Linked DNA regions of Homo sapiens: region 2 is linked to region 1. Evidence: promoter capture Hi-C in human tissues and cell types (Jung and others, 2019). All regions are on one chromosome and are shown on one strand. Each heading gives the region's core, a stretch centred on a gene start or on the middle of the fragment in contact. The rest is flanking DNA. Distances are from core to core; before and after follow the strand shown.

What was found. Contacts are between HindIII fragments. The study calls those that stand out against the background at their distance.
Region 2: a fragment that was not itself captured here is called in contact with the fragment with the promoter of SNRPA1 in region 1 in 3 of the 25 tissues and cell types used here (IMR-90 fibroblasts, aorta and lymphoblastoid cells).

What each region holds. Positions count from the first base shown.
Region 1 is chr15:101,293,066-101,296,925 of GRCh38, forward strand. SNRPA1 (small nuclear ribonucleoprotein polypeptide A') reads right to left here and starts at 2,183. Exons shown (of 9, transcript NM_003090.4): 1 at 2,032-2,183; 2 at 1-107. The coding sequence starts at 2,113. It overlaps SNRPA1-DT (SNRPA1 divergent transcript), which reads left to right and starts at 2,283. Exons shown (of 2, transcript NR_186319.1): 1 at 2,283-2,664. RefSeq lists enhancers at 140-219, 1,137-1,768, 2,332-2,381, 2,442-2,531 and a silencer at 1,912-2,101. The HindIII fragment of the contact is 7,299 bases long and covers 1-3,860 here.
Region 2 is chr15:101,797,035-101,801,488 of GRCh38, forward strand. No RefSeq gene overlaps it. Among named protein-coding and RNA genes, the nearest start is that of OR4F6, 4.2 kb to the right of the region's middle. The HindIII fragment of the contact is 5,482 bases long and covers 1-4,333 here.

The DNA.
Region 1 (3,860 bases), core at 933-3,432:
CAACAAAGGAAAACCATCCAGTTTCCTGATCTCATTGTCAGAAAAATCAATAGCATCAAACTGGTCTAACGTAGCACCTAGATTTTCAATGACGGGAATTTTATACCCTATAAAATGGAGGAAAAAAACACAAGAGGTATTAATATAACTAAACAGTTGCCCCTTAAAGCATTAGCTGTATTTCATAGTATCTGACTCCAGGCTTTGATTTATTCAGGAAGTATTACCTAGCACCTATGTCGGGTCACGCATGACTTGCCGCTGTTTAAGATACTAGAGAGAAAACGCTGAACGAGTCTCAAGTCCCCAGTGCCATGAAGCTTAGAATCTGATGACAACAAGGACAAGGACAATAACAATGGCTGATATAGGCAGCTAACATTTATAAGAACATTTACAAGGTGCCTCACACTGTCCTAAGTCGTTTGGGCTAGTTAAGCGGAATCGGCACAACAGGAGTTTACACTTGGAGCTGCTTAGTCTCAGTGCCCAAACGGCGTTCAAACATTGTGGACGACAGTTCTCCACTCTTGCATCTCCACAGGCCAGATTCTTAGAACCCATCAGAACAGCCTCAACATATCACGACAGTTCTCCCTCCCCTCCCCCAGCTCCAATTCAGAATTGAAGATCAATGGTTTAAATACAGTAATAAATCTGTGAACACTCAAATGTTAATTTGTCTAATTTGGGCATAATTATTGTGTTAGGCACTATAAGAAAAGAAATATTCCGAAGAAGCAAGGTCTACTAAAAAAAGAACTTACCCAAAGTTAAAGGACACAATTCAGAGCTGTACTACACGTACTGCATCAAAATACGTATTCTCAACACTGCACATGCTCCATAAAGAGAAATGGCAGAGATCATCAAAAGTGGTGAGTTGGGCCGGGCGCAGTGGCTCAAGCCTGTAATCCCAGCACTTCGGGAGACCAAGGCGGGCGGATCACCTGAGGTCGGGAGTTCGAGACCAGCCTGACCAACATGGAGAAACCATGTCTTTACTAAAAATACAAAAAATTAGCCGGGCGTGGTGGCGCATGCCTGTATTCCCAGCTACTCGGGAGGCTTGAGACACAGGAATCACCTGAACCGGGGAGGCGGCGGTTGCAGTGAGCCGAGATCACGCCACTGCGCTCCAGCTGGGGCGGAAAGAGCGAGACTCCATCTCAACACAACACAACACAAAACAGTGGGATTTCCCAAAGGTCGGCAAGAAATCTAAGCAGATCCCGCAGCGATGCTGCTCCGAGGCCATAGGTCCCCATGGGAACAAATCTCAGGCTACGACAGCATGGTCTTATCCTCAGAGAAGTTGCTCTATCACGTCCCTTTTAAAGCCGTCTCCTGAAATGCCAACTAGCTAGCTGCCCTCCCAGTATCTTACCAAGTCTTGCTAAGGTTGAAATAGTACAGGAATCTGAATAATTGCGAGCGCTTCCACAACTTACACACAGCACCCGGCGGTGCAAGCCTGGGTGACACAGTTCAATTTTTAAAACGTCTTCATATAGGGGAAACGCCAGACAATTAAAGCTACTAAGTAGAAAATACTGGAGGAAACAATCGCGGTTGTTCGGGGACTTAGTTTCCTCCCTCACATTAGGAATAATGAACACATATCCTATCTACGCTCAAAATATCATCTGGCGGCAAGTATTAAGAACCAATCCCGCGCCCTGCACTTGCGTTACAACCATTAATGAGCCGCTCTTCCGGGCCCTCAAACAGCCAGCGGCGAAACAGCCAAGCAAGGCCTAACAGGGCCCCACGAGGACGCACCAGGAAGTAATGAAGTCACCCGTGCCTGTCAAGAGGCACGGCGCTAACAGAAGGCTCCCAGGAGCTTAACCGGATGCTCATCTGGCAACAACGGCAAGAATCAGGCCCGGCGTTCCCTGCGCAGCCCGGTCGGAGCCCAGACAACCGGCCCGCGGGCCAAGCTCCGGCCTTCGGTGCACGCGGCAAAGCGCGGAAAATAAGGCGGCTCGGTGCCGCCTGGGGACTGGCCGCCCACGCCCCCGGACTCACCCCGGAGGTCCAGCTCCCGGTCGCGCACCGCGTTGGTGTACTGCGCCGCCTGCTCGATCAGCTCCGCCGTCAGCTTGACCATCCTGCAGCCTCCCGTTCCCCCGCGCTGTGGAAAGCCCGTGGCCTCCCGCCAGCGAGACGTCCCAGCGTGCCCCGCGCCCCGCCGCCAGGCAGCACCAATCGCAGCCGCCGAGTGCGCGCGCAGCTCGACCGCCAGGCCGAAGCAATCGAAGAGCCACGCCTCCGGGGGCGTTCTTGCCGGAAGTCGTGGCGCGCGCACAGGGGATGTGTCTCGTTCTGGGTTGTTTCCTAGGGTGTGTTTCGGAGTCTGGAGGACCCCTGATTCCAGACGTTGGTGTTTAAAAGTTAAGGCGAATGTGGAAACACCCGAGGGGAACTTTCTCATGCATTAGCGCACCTCGAGGTGGGAGGGGAAGCGGTGACTGTCCTCCCTCCACCAGCCGTCGCGGGAACCCGTGGGGTTCAGTGAAGGGTCCAGCAGTTCAGGTGCCCGCCCCGGGCCTGGGCCTTGGCTCCGGGCTACAGTGTGAGATCCCGGGCTAGGTGGCCCGCCTGGGGCAGGTCGCCGGGACAACCCCACCGCCCCGCAAGTCCAGCCCGGCCTCGGGCACGGTAGGGTTTGCGGTTAAGCTTGTGACCTTTAGACTTCTGAATATTCATATGTATGAAATGTGATATACATAAAAGTGTGCATATCAGGAATTTACAGTGATTAATGACCAGAGTGAACACAGCTGCGTAGCCGACACCGGGATCCAAAACACCGCTATTCTGAAAGCCTCCCTCTTTCCCAAAAGGCAACCGCGAACTCAACACTACAAATTCGGTTTGCTTGCTTTTGCTATAAATAGAATCATGCAGTATGCTTTTTTTTTTGGCCTAGTTTCATGGAGTCTATATTATGTCTGGAGTCCATCCAGGTTGCATACAGAGATGGTTTGTTTGCTTTTGCTGCTGAAGAGAATTCCATTGTATATATTATACCATAAATTACTTATTCTGCTGTTGATAGACATCAAAGTTGTTTTCAGTTAGGGCTATTCTGAGTAATGCTACTATGAATTTTCTGGTACGTGGTTCTGATGCACGTTTGCATGAGTTTGTCCTGGAGTGGGACTGCTGGGACATAGGGTATATCTATCATCAATAAGTAATGCCCAACAGTTATGCTAAGAGGCTGAAATAATATACACACTCCAGCGGTGTGTAAGGGTTTTCATGGCTTCCAGCTTCAGCCTTCTTGGCATTTTAACTCTATAACTTCAGCTATTCTGATGGGTGTGTGGTGGTATTGCACTACTGCTTTGCTTTGCTTTTCTCTAATAACTAATGAAGCTGAGAACCTTCTCATGTGTATGGTGCCCATTCTGATAGCTTCCTTGGTTAAGTGTTCTTTCGAGTCCCTGGCTCATTTTTTTTTTTTCCTTATGGAGTTGTCTGCCTTTTTTCTTATTGATTTGTGGAATTTCTTTATATATTAGGGATATGAACACACTCTGTGGCTTGCCTTTTCACTCTTAATGGTGTTGATGATTAGATTTTTTTTTTTTTTTTTTTTTTTTTTTTTTAGACAGGGTCTCACTCTGTCACCTAGGCCGGAGTGCAGTGGTGCCATCAGGACTCACTGCAGCCTTGACCTCTCAGGCTCAAGAGATCCTCCCACCTCAGCCTCCCAAATAGCCGGGACTATAGGCACAGGTCAACAGGCCTGGCTAACTTTTGTATTTTTTGTAGAGACAAGGTTTTGATATGTGGCCCAGGCTGGTCTCCAACTCCTGAGCTCAAGTGATCCACCTGCCTCAGACTCC
Region 2 (4,454 bases), core at 343-2,842, 500 kb after region 1:
GCAAAGGGCATAACTGAAACAGAAAATATACCCCAAACCTAGAAATGCAAATCAAAACCATGTGGACCAAGCAAATAAATGTGATACCTCCTTATTCCTGCAAGAATGGCCATAATCAAAACATTAAAAAAACCAGATGTTGGTGTGGATGTGTTGATCAGGGAGCACTTATACACTGCTGGTGGGCATGTAAACTAGTACAGCCACTATGAAAATCAGTGTGGAGATTCCTTAAAGAGCTAAATGTAGAACTACCATTTGATCCAGCAATTCCACTACTGGGCACATAGAGATAAAGGTGTCATTATATGAGAAAGATACTTGTACATGCATGTTTATAGCAGCATAATTCGTAATGGCAAAATCATGGAATCAACCCAAATGCCCATCAACAACAAGTGGATAAAGAAACTGTGGTATATATATGTGATGGAATACTACTCAGCTATAAAAAGTATTGAATTAATGGCATTTGCAGTGACCTGGATGAGACTGGGAACTATTATTTTAAGTGAAGTAAACTCGGGAATGGAAAACCAAACATCATATGTTCTCACTGATATGTGGGAGCTACGCTATGAGGATGCAAAGGCGTAAGAATAATACAGTGAACTCGGGAACTTGGGGGAAAGGATGGGAGAGGGGCGAGGGATAAAAATCTACAAATAGGGTGCAGTGTATACTGCCCGGGTGATGGGTGCACCAAAATCTCACAAATCACCACTAAAGAACTTACTCATGTAACCAGATACCACCTGTACCCCAATAACATCTGGAAAAAAAAAAAAGAAATCATAAGCTGAACTTGTGGCAGCCTGACAAACTTGCCTAAACCAGTTCATACAAAACTTGATACACTGCTTCTTGATTCTATACCATTAGACATGTCCGAAGTACTCCAACAAAAGCTTAAAGAAAAAAACACTAAGCTTCAAGCACAGCTCTTTCTGGTGTATATAAAACGCTTCCTCCTTAGCTAGTATATTTAACCAGTAGGGCTTCTCTCCTCCTTTCGGCTACCATTTATTAAGTGCTGTGTGCCAGGCACTATCTAATGTATACATAAAAATTATATGGAGCAGGCATTGTTATGCCCTCATTTAGAAAAGAAAATCTGGAGAGGTAAAACGATTTCCTATCATTTTGCCTAAAGTTTCCCTGTTGCATCTTTTAGGTGCTGTGTAGAGTATGATCCGAGACACAGTCATCCTTGTGCTAAGGTCAGCCTGTTTGCAGCAGCAAAACCCAGATCTGTGGTGATGTCAACTGCATGAATCCTGCCATTGGGTAATTTTAAAGACCTTGTGTAACTTCGAAGACCTTGCGTACTACTCCTAATGTGAGGATGAAGTTATTCTGTTCCAACTCCAGTGCTAGAATCATAATGTTGCTTCTTATGGAAAGTACAATTTAAGAACTGTGTCTTAGGTTAAATAAACAGAATCTAGGATACCTTTATAGACTATCTATGATAGGTTACTGGGTGAGCTTTTATTTTTTAACTGTCTGGAGATGGGGTAGGGAACAGAAACAGAGATAGGGATGATTGGCAGGGACCTTGGGGAAGAGACAGTGATTTGGCAGCCTTGTATGGAAACGTCCTCTTGTATTATGCCTCAGTTTTTGTTATGCCTTATGTATTCCCAGATTTCCAAAGGAGCTTAAAACTTCTCTATACTCCTCTACAACCATTTTTGATGGTGAGATTTTCTTTAGTATCCATTTCCAAGTGAAGTGCTTATCACAATTAACTATCAAATAAACTATTTGGGCAGAGCTTTCTGCTTTCCTCAAGTTACCCCTAGGGAATGGCCAGGGGAACTAACAGTAACCAAATATCTACTATACTTCAGGGCCTTCATATGTATTCTCATTAAAAACACATAAAACCTATGAGGTAGGTTTTGCTATCCCTGCTTCATAAATGAGAAAGCCTCAGCCTAGAAGTCACACACCTAGAAAGTGATTGATTTGGGGTTCAAACCAAATTCTGTCAGTTTCTTAGTCACAGCTTCTTGTTGCAAGTAACAGATATGAGAAGAGGAGACATCTTCACACAGAAGTATTTGGTGGAATTCTAGAGCAGAACCACCAGGAACTGCACCATGAATGGGAGAAGGAGAAGGAACTAAACCCACTATTTCTTCCAATGCTCGAGGTCGCGGGCCTCTCATTTGTATTTCTTTCTGTGTCCCATCCCTGTAGCTACATCACTTTAGTTTAAGGGACCAGCAGAATCTGACCAGCATTTATGAACCCCAAATTTCAAATTTCCAGGAGGGAGAATATGATTGGTTAGGTGAAGGCAGGATCCCCAGGATGCAGGGCCCTTTCTGTGGTTGAGTTATAGATCTCATCCTCTGCCACCTCTTCAGGACTTTTGCTCTTTCAGTTACTCCCTCCCCCTGCTATATTTTTAAACCATCCTTTCTTTTGGTTTGTTTATATCAGTATTCAAACATGGCCACATCTCTTCTAAGCTTGAAAACATAAAACAAATAAATATAATCTCTTTCTTGAATCCACTTTACTTCTAACGACAGATTAATCTCTGTATTAGTTTCCAAAGGCTGTCATATCAAATTAGTACGAATGTGATGACTTAAAAATATGTCGATGCCCAGTGCCATCAGCAGTGGATTGGCTAAAGAAAATGTGGTACATGTACACTGTGGGATACTATGAAGCCATGAAGGACAAAATCATGTTCTTTGCAGCAACATGGATGCAGCTGGAAGCCATTATCCTAAGTGAATGACTGCAGAAACAGAAAACCAAATACCACATGTTCTCACTTGTGAGTGGGAGCTAAACATTGTGTACACATGGTTATAAAAATGGGAACAATAAAGTTGGGTGAGGTAGCTCATGACTGTAATCCTGGCACTTTCAGAGGCCAAGGCAGGGGGAGGTCAAGAATTCGAGACCAGCCTGGCCAACATGGTGAAACCCTTCTTTACTAAAAATACAAAAATTAGCCAGGCCTAGTGGTACACACCTGTAACCCCAGCTACTCAGGAGGCAGAGGCAGGAAAATTGCTTGAACCCGGGAGGCAGAGGTTCAGTAACCCGAGATTGCACCATTGCACTACAGCCTGGGTGACAGAGTGAGTCTCTGTCACACACACACACACACACACACACACACACACACAATAGCCACTGAAGAATGCAAGAGTGGGGATGGAGAGAACAGGGTGAGGGCTGAAAAAAACTATTGGGTAGATGCTTACCTCCTGGGTGATGGATTCCTTTATACTCCAAACCTCAGCACCATGCAATATACCTGTGTAACAAACTGCACATGTACCCCCTTATTTTAAAGTAAAAGTTGAAAAAAGCAGCACAGAAGATAATATAGTCAGGCAACATATGGAAAAATGTATATGAAATTTTAGTTACTATTTGTAAACAGCAACAAAAAAAGGATATCAGCAAACCATAAAAAAGAAAACAAAAGTTGATGAATTCAGCATACATTTTGGAAGAATAGACAAGCTTTCTGTGAATTTGCTTTGGTTACAATAGAATCCTCTCTTATTAAGTGAGCCAATTGGCAAGTGAACTAATTGGGAAATAAGCTTTTTCTGAAACCCTAATGACTTCTTATGGCCGCAATTAATAAACATAGATGCCATATGTAATAGCAGACACTAACCATGCATCTGTGCTGTATAAGGCACCAGTAGGTGGAATACGCAAGATCTAAAATCAGCAGATATTGGTATGCTTTCTTCATGGGCATTCAAATTAAGAGATTTGTAAGTAAAACCTTCCTCATATTGGCAAATTCATTTTGTAGATGTAACCCTTGGCTAGTAAAGATAATAGTATTTGGAGTAAGTAAAATATTTATCTTGGCATTCAATATTTTAATAAATGACATCACATGCTAATCAACAGATGCACACTGGAATAATAACATCACACGCCAATCAACAGACGCACACTGGAATCAAGTTAAAATAATAAAATTAAGACAATCAAAACACCAGGCTGCAAGACCTGCTGAATACAAATGTGTCACACTTACACAATATTCTTCCCAGTCTCATTTCTCTGCCCTGCTTGATAAGCAGAATTTTAATCTTTTCTGGGATTCTTCTTCCCAACTGTTCTCTCTAGAGTATTAGGATGGGAGCCACTCTGTGGCACACAGCTATCTGCTTGAGCCACTGTTCATCTCTCCTGAATTGCTTATCTCTGCATAGCCTGCATGCCACTGCCTGAAACTGTAGGAATCTGGGGACTGTGTGGGGAGGGGTAGAGAGGCTGTGTTAGAGTGTGTTCATGTACATCCCTGCTCAGTTGCTGCCCATGCAGTCACCAGGACTTGCTGCTTTGTCTGGTCTATTCTGCTAGATATCTTTTGCTTTTGTAATGATTTTATTTGAGATGCATCGGACTGCCCTCCTTTGGACAACTCAAGTTCATCAAATCATTCTGTATATGTT